Linked DNA regions of Homo sapiens: region 2 is linked to region 1. The links are contacts of gene promoters, found by promoter capture Hi-C in blood cells and fetal thymus (Javierre and others, 2016). All regions are on one chromosome and are shown on one strand. Each heading gives the region's core, a stretch centred on a gene start or on the middle of the fragment in contact. The rest is flanking DNA. Distances are from core to core; before and after follow the strand shown. Region 1 holds the start of RRAGB (Ras related GTP binding B). Region 2 has its middle 8.4 kb from the start of USP51.

Region 1 (4,579 bases), core at 1,112-3,611:
AAATATGGTACATTTCCTTCGGTTATTAATTTATACAGTGTACCTCTTTCAATTGCCTATGAAAGACTTACCAAGGCTAATCATGTTAGGTACTGATCTAAGTGTTCTACAGGCATTTACTAATTTAAACGTCACAACAATCTTACGATACAGTTAATATTATTACTACCATTTTACAAATGAGGAAACTGAAGCCCCAAAAGGTTAAGAAATTAGCTTGAGCTGCACTCTTAGCAATTCTGCCTAAACCCCAACGTAGGGCACAGTACTATGAGAGCACAAAGGAAGGTGTGTCCAATTCTATCTGAAGAACTCAATAAGACCTTATAGTGGTAACACTTGAGTTAGGTTAAAAATAAATGTGCAGACAGAGGCCTGTATGGTGTGTGTATATGGCTTACACAAAGTGCAAATTAATTTGTAAATCTGGAGAACAATAAATTCTGTAGGGCTGTGATAGGGTGCATAAGTGTGGCACAGGGTTTGGTCAGGAACAGATTTTAAAGGGCCATGAAATCATTTGGATTTTATTCCATGGGCTTAAAGAAGTTACTAAAGGTTCTTAAGTATGTAGATGACTCAGTCGGATTTTCATATTAGAAAAATTAAATCTGATAGCATACAAGGAGAAGAGAGTCAGACAGACCACACAGAAGGCTCCTGCAATAGTCCAGAAAAGATGGTGTATATATGTCACAAAGTTCCTGAATATCAACTTCTTACCTTTACCTTCATGGTTTTGACGTATCTAACACGTCTTACCTTTTTCTTCATGGCTGTATTTGGTAGCACCCACCTGCAGATATAAACCAAAAAACAGTTTCCATGATCCAATTCCCTTAGAAATTGAAATTAATGAAGTATAAATAAACATGGAGGTACAAAAGAGCATGTTTAGTACAACGGCTGAGTACAGCTGTGTGTGTGGGACCTCAGATGAATAGAGGTCCCATTTTCCTAAATTATAAAACTGTGTGTATACTCTCTATCTCCTAATTAGAAGTTCAAGAGAGAACTCCTAGGAAGATTTATTTAGGAATACAAATGAGCCATTAAAATTCAAGATTCAATTTTTCATCATCTTAATCAAAGCAACACAGCTGCTTTAATCAAACAATATCTTCTATTTCTAAAAAAACAGAATATATTGATATCCTCTACTTGAGGACTGAGTATTGAATATCTTCTATGTATAAAAAACATTCAGCCTCCTAATTTTAAAATCTGGAAGTATCTTTTTAGTCCTTCAGCTGTCCTTCCAAGCCCTATTTCACTCATCACAGACACAAAGTAGATGTAAGTCTCAAATTCAGGTACAAATTGGCACAGAAAACACCCTCAAGCTCTGACCTGGAAATGCAAATCTTCTTTCTAGTCTTTCCATCCCCAACCTGGTGACAGCAAATCTCCTTTACTGATAATTCAAAGCAACTCATAACTGCTTTAATTAGAACACTCCCCCAGCACCACCACCAGGAATATCAGCCCCTTCCCAAGGGTTGTTTCTGATCAGTTAGCACCAATTCGCTTTCCAGTTTATCCTGTCGTCCAAAGCATAATCCCAATCAACATTACTGGTAAATCAAAGCAATTTATCATGGTGCGGGGTGGGGAGAAGTGTTCTAATTCACAATACTCTCTTCAATTTGAACACCCCCACTTCCAGGTTTCACAAATACCCTTCACCCACCCAAGCGATCCTTCCGGTTCCCCTAGTGGTGGATCCATTCTCGGCCCCAGATTTTCTTTCTCCGTCGTTTTCTCAGAGTCAGATTCTTCCATTGCGCAACAAGTCCTTTCCAGTCCCTTCTAAATCTTCAGTACTCTTCAGGGTTTGTTGTTGTTGTTTGTTTGTTTTCTTTTTCACCCCTCAACTGCCTATTCTCATCGCCTATGGCCCTCAGGCCTGCTCTATTCTTGCCTCCGCCTTTGTCCACTGGGGGGCCGCTTTCCCCACGGTTACCTTTATCTCTCGAACCTGGCCTCAAGGCACGGCCGAGCTGGCTAGCTTTAAGGCCAAGTGATTCCGTGGTACAAAGTAAGAGTTGGAGAATGACAGGAAAAGAGAGGTGGGTTAGGGGTTCGTCCCGAGTTTGGGCCTCAGGCCCCCAAGGTCTGGAAACCCAAAGGTAACTTCACCCGCAAAGAGGTGAGGACCGCGAAGGCGGAGGTGGCAGAAAGAGCTGACCCATGCCGTAGGCACTAAGCGGAGAACGCCTCAGCTGGCTCGTGGCTTCCGAGCCCGGCCGCTCGGAGAGTCAGCCGGCGGGGGCAGTAGTTACGACCTAACCACCCGCCCTTCAGGAACCCAGGTATCTCACCGCAGCCACCCAACTGCAGGCCAGGATCACGTGGGCATCTGCCTTACCCCGGAGTCTGTCACGTGACTGCCGCTACCAAAGGGACGGGTGGGCTGGGAAGAATACCATAGAGACAGCTCCAGGAAAGCCAGAGTGCCGTCTGTCATCATCACGTGGCCTTGGCTCAGGCTCCGCCCCTCGGGCGGGGTAGGGCGCTGGGAGCCTTCAGCCTCTCTAATGTGGGTGGGCCTGGCCCCACCCATCCGCTATGGAGAATTAAAGGAGCCGGTTGCAATTTCAGTGCCTCTGAGCTTCTCTTTTTTACTGCTGGTTACCGGTAATGGTTTTTGACTGGGAAGACCGAGCATTGTCTTTGCCTTCCTGCTTTTTATTGTTAATTCTTGCAATCGAGTTTGTAATTAAATGATTAATACATCCAAAGCGCTTAGAACTGTGTCTTCCACATAGCAAATACTGTATAAATTATCGTTATTGCTGAAACCAGGGATTCATCAGGAATTTTAACACACACATTCATCTTCCCACTTGTTTAAAACAGGAAGTGAAGGAAGTACCATAGTAAGAAGTCAATAAATAAAGTCTAGGGCTGGGAGTGGTGGGTCATGCCTTTAATCCCAGCACTTTGGGAGGCTGGGGAGGGAGGATCACTTGAGGCCAGGAGTTCAAGACCAACCTGGCCAACATAGCGAGACCCCATCTGTAAATAAGTGAAGTCTAGAATTGAGAACAGAAAGACTACTGGTAGGGATATGCACACCAGGAAAAATGCCCAGAGGGGTTCAAAGATGTTCCTTCTGGAGAATGGGGTAGGGGATAGGACGTGATATGTCAGGGGACTATTATTTTTTATCTGAAGCCCTTCTGTGCTATATATATTTCTATAATGTATAAATGATATATAATAATAAGATTAATATGACATTTAATTATATTTAATATAATCAACTAATACTTAAATAATATGTTATAAATATGTTATTTTAAATAAATGTGTAGTTTAATTATATTATTTATAATTAATATATGATATACTACATGTATTATTTACACGTAAGTGTGTACATATATTACTTTGATAAGAAAAAAAGGGAAGGAAGGAAGAGAAACTGCAGGAAACAGAGTACTATTATTGAAACTGCCTTTGCAAAAACTGTAACTGAGGAAATTATGACAGTGAAAGAGATCAGACCTCACCGACTCCATCTTACATCTAACCTTTAAGGTGTCCTTGTTCATTCCTGGGCGTAGGCCGAACTAACCTTGGGAAGGAATTTAGTTTATAGTTTAACTCTGATACAAAATTGATAATAGCCCTTTCTCCCTCCCGCTGCCCCCCACTAAAAAAAAACAAAAAAACAAAAAAACCTTCTTACCTGGGAACCAGTCGGCCTTTGCAGGACTAACAAATTAGCCACAAGATTACAAGATTAGAAATTACAATTCAGGGGCCATGCAGCCTCCAGCTGCAAGAGTCTGAACCTCCCCAAATTGCTCCCAGGAATAACATCACTGTTTTAAAACCTAAGATCACTGTTTGATATGTTTTGCAGACCCTGCATTCAGATGCACCAGCTTATGATACAGGAGCGGGGCAGGAAAGTGCTGGGCAGAGAAAGGCGGGTCCGTGGCTAGGGCTCCACCCTGGGGCCTGTGCCCATGGACCTAGGTGAGGATAGGCACTCCTGCCTTCCCACCCAAATGTTATATTCACCCCTAGAGGTTGCCATGGGGTCGGAGCCCCACAGCCTGCCCCTCTGCATGCTCCCCCTAGAGGTTGTGAAGCAGTGAGCCACTCCCGCTGTGGCATGCCCTGCAAGGGGGATAGGGGAACTTCCCTCGTTTCACTTACAGCACCCAGACCAGTAATCTGGCCCAGCCAGTTCTGCGATCCCACCCAGGAACAGAAGATAGCAAGAAAAACTCACTTAGAGCCCCCTATGATTCCATATCCAACTTGACCAGTCAACACTCCCCACTTCCCAAGCCCCTACCCACCAAATTATTGTTAAAAATTTCAATCCCCCGAAACTGATTTGAGTAATAAAACTGCAGTCTCACCCACAGCTGGCTCTGCATGAATTACTCTTTCTCCATTGCAATTCCCCTGTCTTGATAAATCAGCTCTGTCTAGGCAGCAGGCAAGGTGAACCCGTTGGGCAGTTACACTGTCTGCTCCCACACTTTCCACTTGAGGTCCTGTGTGATTCCTTTTCTCCACAACTGCCTTGCCTCAAGAAAAAAGTTATTCTACTCTGATT
Region 2 (4,579 bases), core at 658-3,157, 240 kb after region 1:
ACTATGCTATGATAACCTGATTCTGGGACTTTGAGAGGTCAATATCTATAACACAAAGAGAAAACCAGAAAGAACTGGAGATTGGGAGAAAGAGCCCAGGGAACATCGTTTGAACCTTGTGGATCCAGCTGTGCCAGAAGCGCCAAAGTTCCCAGCTATCTGAGCCAATAGAGTCCTTTGTTTTGCTTAAGCTAGTTGTCAGTTGGGATCCTGTCATTTGCAGCCAAGGGTCTTGAACATACTAACCAAGCTATATGATTAGTGGAGCATCAGTTCCTAAGACCACAAAGCATGAGAGAGAAAAGGGAAGGAGGAGTGACCTTGGATGAACTTCATCATATAAAATTAAGAAACTATAGTGGGTCCCTGTACATCTTTAAGAAGCAAGTTTCAGCTCAGCCACTGACCTGTGCTAGACTTCAAACCTTACTCACAGTAATGAAATGCTTATTCCAAATAAAAGGGAAAAAAAGCAATAATGTTATATGAGTACTGATTTAAATCAGGCACTGTGTTAACTGCTTTACCTTTATTATCTCACTTGGTCCTGGGTCCTCATAGTTCTGGGAGACAATCATTACTGAACATATTTCGCAAACTGGGAAAGTGAAAATCAGAATAGAAAAGTGATTTGCTTAAGTTCACTCTACTGTTCTAATCAGTGAAGCCAGTATTCAAATGCAGGTCCCCAAAGCCCATGCATGTCCCATCATAATCCAGTATAGATAATTCAAATATATATATTTTTGCTTTTCCTGATTTTGCTATGGAAGACAGGATAAACCAGCGTGGTACAGAAGGCAGCTTCTGACAAATCTGGATGCAGGTAACCTGCAAGGAGAGAGTAACCTATCTACTACACAAAGTTGCCCATGCTACAGGGGTATTTGTTTCTGTGGAAATGGCTGATTCAGATAGATCAGGCTAAATGACTTTCCTAAGGATAATCATGATGGATGAAGCCAAAATATTACCCCCAATATAAGACATATAGCCTCACTCAATGCTATATGCCAGGCTGAGCCCCAAGACGTGACTGTAAGATCTCATGTTTTTGCGGTCTGTAAAACCATCAGCTCTTTAGCCATACAAGACTTCTTTTCTAACTTCAACACCATAGCCATCACTTTGAGTGTCACTTTTATCACCCCTCTCCCTCAGATCTTCCCAAAATGCCCACAACACCAGCTCCTCCAACGAGCCCGGGGAGGGACTTACCTATTGGGACCTTACCCAAGTGGTCCAATACTGATTTGTAATGTACAGCTTCTGTTGTTTCTGAATTACTTTCATTTCCTTTACCTTGATTCTCTTCCAAACACACAGTAGTGGCTACTCCAGGCTAGGGCCGGACCTATGTGTTTATAAATCCCACAGGCCTACCACAGTTTATGGCAGGTACTTAACATGCTAGCTGAATGAATATATGAATGAATAAATGAAGACATTCCGTTCTACACTCTAAGCCTCAGCTTCAGCAGGTGACTTCATGTCCTATTTTTCTGAAATCAAAAATCTCATAAGAATGCCTGATTTACCCACATCTACACACTTAAGTTTCCATCCATCCTCCATGCCTTCACTGTCATTTCAAAGGAAAAGGAATACTGCTTCTTTTCTGAAGCTTCACCCACTAGCCTCCTTCTTCTCGTCCATTCCTAACAGTCAGAGGGCCTTACTCCTACACACTTCCCTCTATTCTAGTAACAGCCATGTTTTTGCTAGACAGATAAAATCCAGCAACTAGACATCCTAGATTTTCTATGGTAGTTCCTCAAAAATGTTGTCCCATCATCTCTGTAAGAGATAAAAAAAGTATTCCAAATCCCAATACTTCTCCTGAGTGTATATTATCCCCAGAAGAAACCCAAGAGTCTGTTTTAAAATCCAGATTTGGGGATCATGTTTAAAAGAAAAATACATTACCTTTGCTCCCCTTCCTTTTACTGCCAAACTCTTTCACATGTGTTTTTTTCATACATTATTTTCACTTACCTCCTGCTCCATCTTTAGTTCCCTGCATTCTGGTTTCTGCTTGCACCACTCTGTTGAAACTACTTTTGCTTAAGTTAAAATGACTTATTTTTTCAAAATTCCTTATTTTACTACTTTATTCCATTTAGTAAAGAGATATATGATATTTGCAGATAACGGAACAACAATCACAGAATATTTGAAGTTAAAGCTTTCCCAAAAAATCCAGATCATAATGTTGCCATGTTGGCTACCGTTTAGGAGCAGTTTCCCCTTCCCTTATACCAGGAGGGTATGCCAAATCTGAGAAAGGGACTGCAGCTAGAGGTGGAGCAAGTGGAGTTGAGGAAGGGATTGCACAGAAAATCAAATTTTTAAAAACTGTATCATGTTTTAAATGTATCAGAGAAGTTGGTATCTAAGGACAGGTGTAGAAAATCCTTTTTGTATGCAGATGAGGCCTTATCCAGAATCTAACCATGCCCTAAATTGATCTGTTTTTAAAAGAGTCCCCTTAAAGACACACCTGTATTCTATATGCAAACTTACAATTTGAACCCTCTTTCTCACCAACCCTTTAATAGAGAATTAAACTGACTGGCCTATGATTTCTACTTATTTATGATGAGGTACCTGTGGTGAGGCCTAACTAGGAAGAAGATGACTGAGGCACCAGAAAGACTTGAGCTGAAATCACATCCCAGATTTGCCATTTATTAACTGGCAACACTGGGCCAGTAACAGAGTCTTGTGCACAGCCCTCCAAGGATTGTAGAGGAGACTAAAACTAACAGTCTTTGTAAAGCATTTGGTGGATAGCAAAATGCTTGCTATCTACATATGGTTGAAGCTAAAAAGAAAAAATAGTCATATCTCTTGTCCCACGTGTCAGTGTCCAAATACTCTCTTTGACCCACACATGTCCATAGCAGATAAGAAGTGCTAGCTCTCTGGAAGCATATTTTCCAGCACATTACATGGGATTGTTACCTGAGCAAATACTCATCAGGCAGGGCTCTCCCAGTGGGGTGTGTCTTACTGTTGGCTATACTTGATAAAGAATATGAGACTCAGAGAACTTGATTATTTTTTCCAAAATAAATAGTAACTAAGACACAGAGCTGGGTCACAAAGACTGGATGTTAACCACCAGGCTGTGCTGCATCGACAGAAGCTGTCCTGGTCTAGACCAACCTCTAAGGATCTATCCTCCACCCTGGTTTTGTTCTCCTCTACACCCAGGTCAAGTGTTGCCTCCTCCAAGAGGCCTTCTCATATCTCATATCTCCCAAATCAAGAGAGAAGGAGCACTCAGAGCACAGAAGCACTACCAAGGCAGTTTCCACAGATTATAAAAGGGGTCATGTCACTCAGATTAGACTGCAGTTCCAACGCCTGACCCTTCTATCCCTGCCCCTTTGTCAGTAGGGATAGGGCTACATAAAGAGGCCTCCACAAAGAAAACAGGTGTCCGGTAAAAAAGGAGCTAAAAAAACTTCCAAACCTCAGTCACATACTAGCACCCGGAGGGAAAGTGCTTTGGAATTGTAGACTGGCTTGTGCAGGAAAACGTGCTTTTTCTCCCCTAGGGAAGGGCATTTTGTCAGCCACAGCTAAGCAAAGAGTTGCTCCACTCTGGGTTAGCAGACCTAGAAGGAAATGCTGAGTCAGTCAAGAGCCCAAAGGCTAAAGAACCTGGAGTCTGATGTCCGAGGGCAGGAGGAACAGAAGGAAGCATCCCGCACGGGAGAAGGATGAAAGCCAGAAGACTCAGCAAGCCAGCTTGTCCCACCTACTTCCATCTGCCCTGCCTTACCCGTGCGGGCAGCCAATTGGATGGTGCCCATCCACATTGAGGATGAGTCTTCCTCTCCCGGTCCACGGACTCAAACGTCAGTCTCCTCTGACAACACCCTCACAGATGCACCCAGAAACAATACTTTATCAGCTATCTAGGCGTCCTTCAATTCAGTCCAATCAAGTTGACACCTAATATTAACCATCACAGTAGGGATCCTCAGCCTTTTGGTGCCTTGGATCCCTTTGATATCCTGGTACAGCCGGTGGATCCCTTAAGACAATGATATTTTTAACATAAATATATATAACTAAACACACGGGATTATAAAAATGCATTGTATGGAGATGGCATTTTGTACTTTTAGAAAGATATTGTGATGTGAGGAAATTTTTTTTTTAATTAAACCTTACATAACTATCACAAGATGGGTATAATAACTACCATAGTTTCAAAGTAGTGCTGAGCATAGGTGATACTCTGAGAAATGTGAAAGAAGTGTAATGTGATACCGAAATTTTTGTTGGCGACACAGTCACATGTAGTACTACTATCAATGGAGTTTCATGCCTAGGCTCATAGTTTTAGGACATGATCACTGTAAGTTAGAGGTGGGTGAAAATAAAGGTGCAGCTCTTTTCCCCACACACATGCACAGACCTCTCTCTGACTAGGCTTGCTTTACGATGCCCTGAGCACTTTGCCTGCTTAGTGGGCCAAAGAATTACAGACCATTTATTAAGTGCATATCGTGTGCTCTTTTCTCTTTCTTTTTTCTCACAAAACTTTGGTATGCCCTATTTATGA

What was found. Contacts are between HindIII fragments. The CHiCAGO score rates a contact against its expected background, and 5 or more counts as called.
Region 2: a fragment that was not itself captured here is called in contact with the fragment with the promoter of RRAGB in region 1 in 2 of 17 cell types (non-activated CD4 T cells and activated CD4 T cells); the score reaches 6.5 in non-activated CD4 T cells.

Annotation. Positions count from the first base shown.
Region 1 is chrX:55,715,531-55,720,109 of GRCh38, reverse strand. It overlaps RRAGB (Ras related GTP binding B), which reads right to left and starts at 2,361. Exons shown (of 10, transcript NM_006064.5): 1 at 1,691-2,361; 2 at 763-796. The coding sequence starts at 1,782. RefSeq lists enhancers at 1,743-1,872, 2,033-2,232. The HindIII fragment of the contact is 6,209 bases long and covers 1-4,579 here.
Region 2 is chrX:55,479,209-55,483,787 of GRCh38, reverse strand. No RefSeq gene overlaps it. Among named protein-coding and RNA genes, the nearest start is that of USP51, 8.4 kb to the left of the region's middle. The HindIII fragment of the contact is 561 bases long and covers 1,627-2,187 here.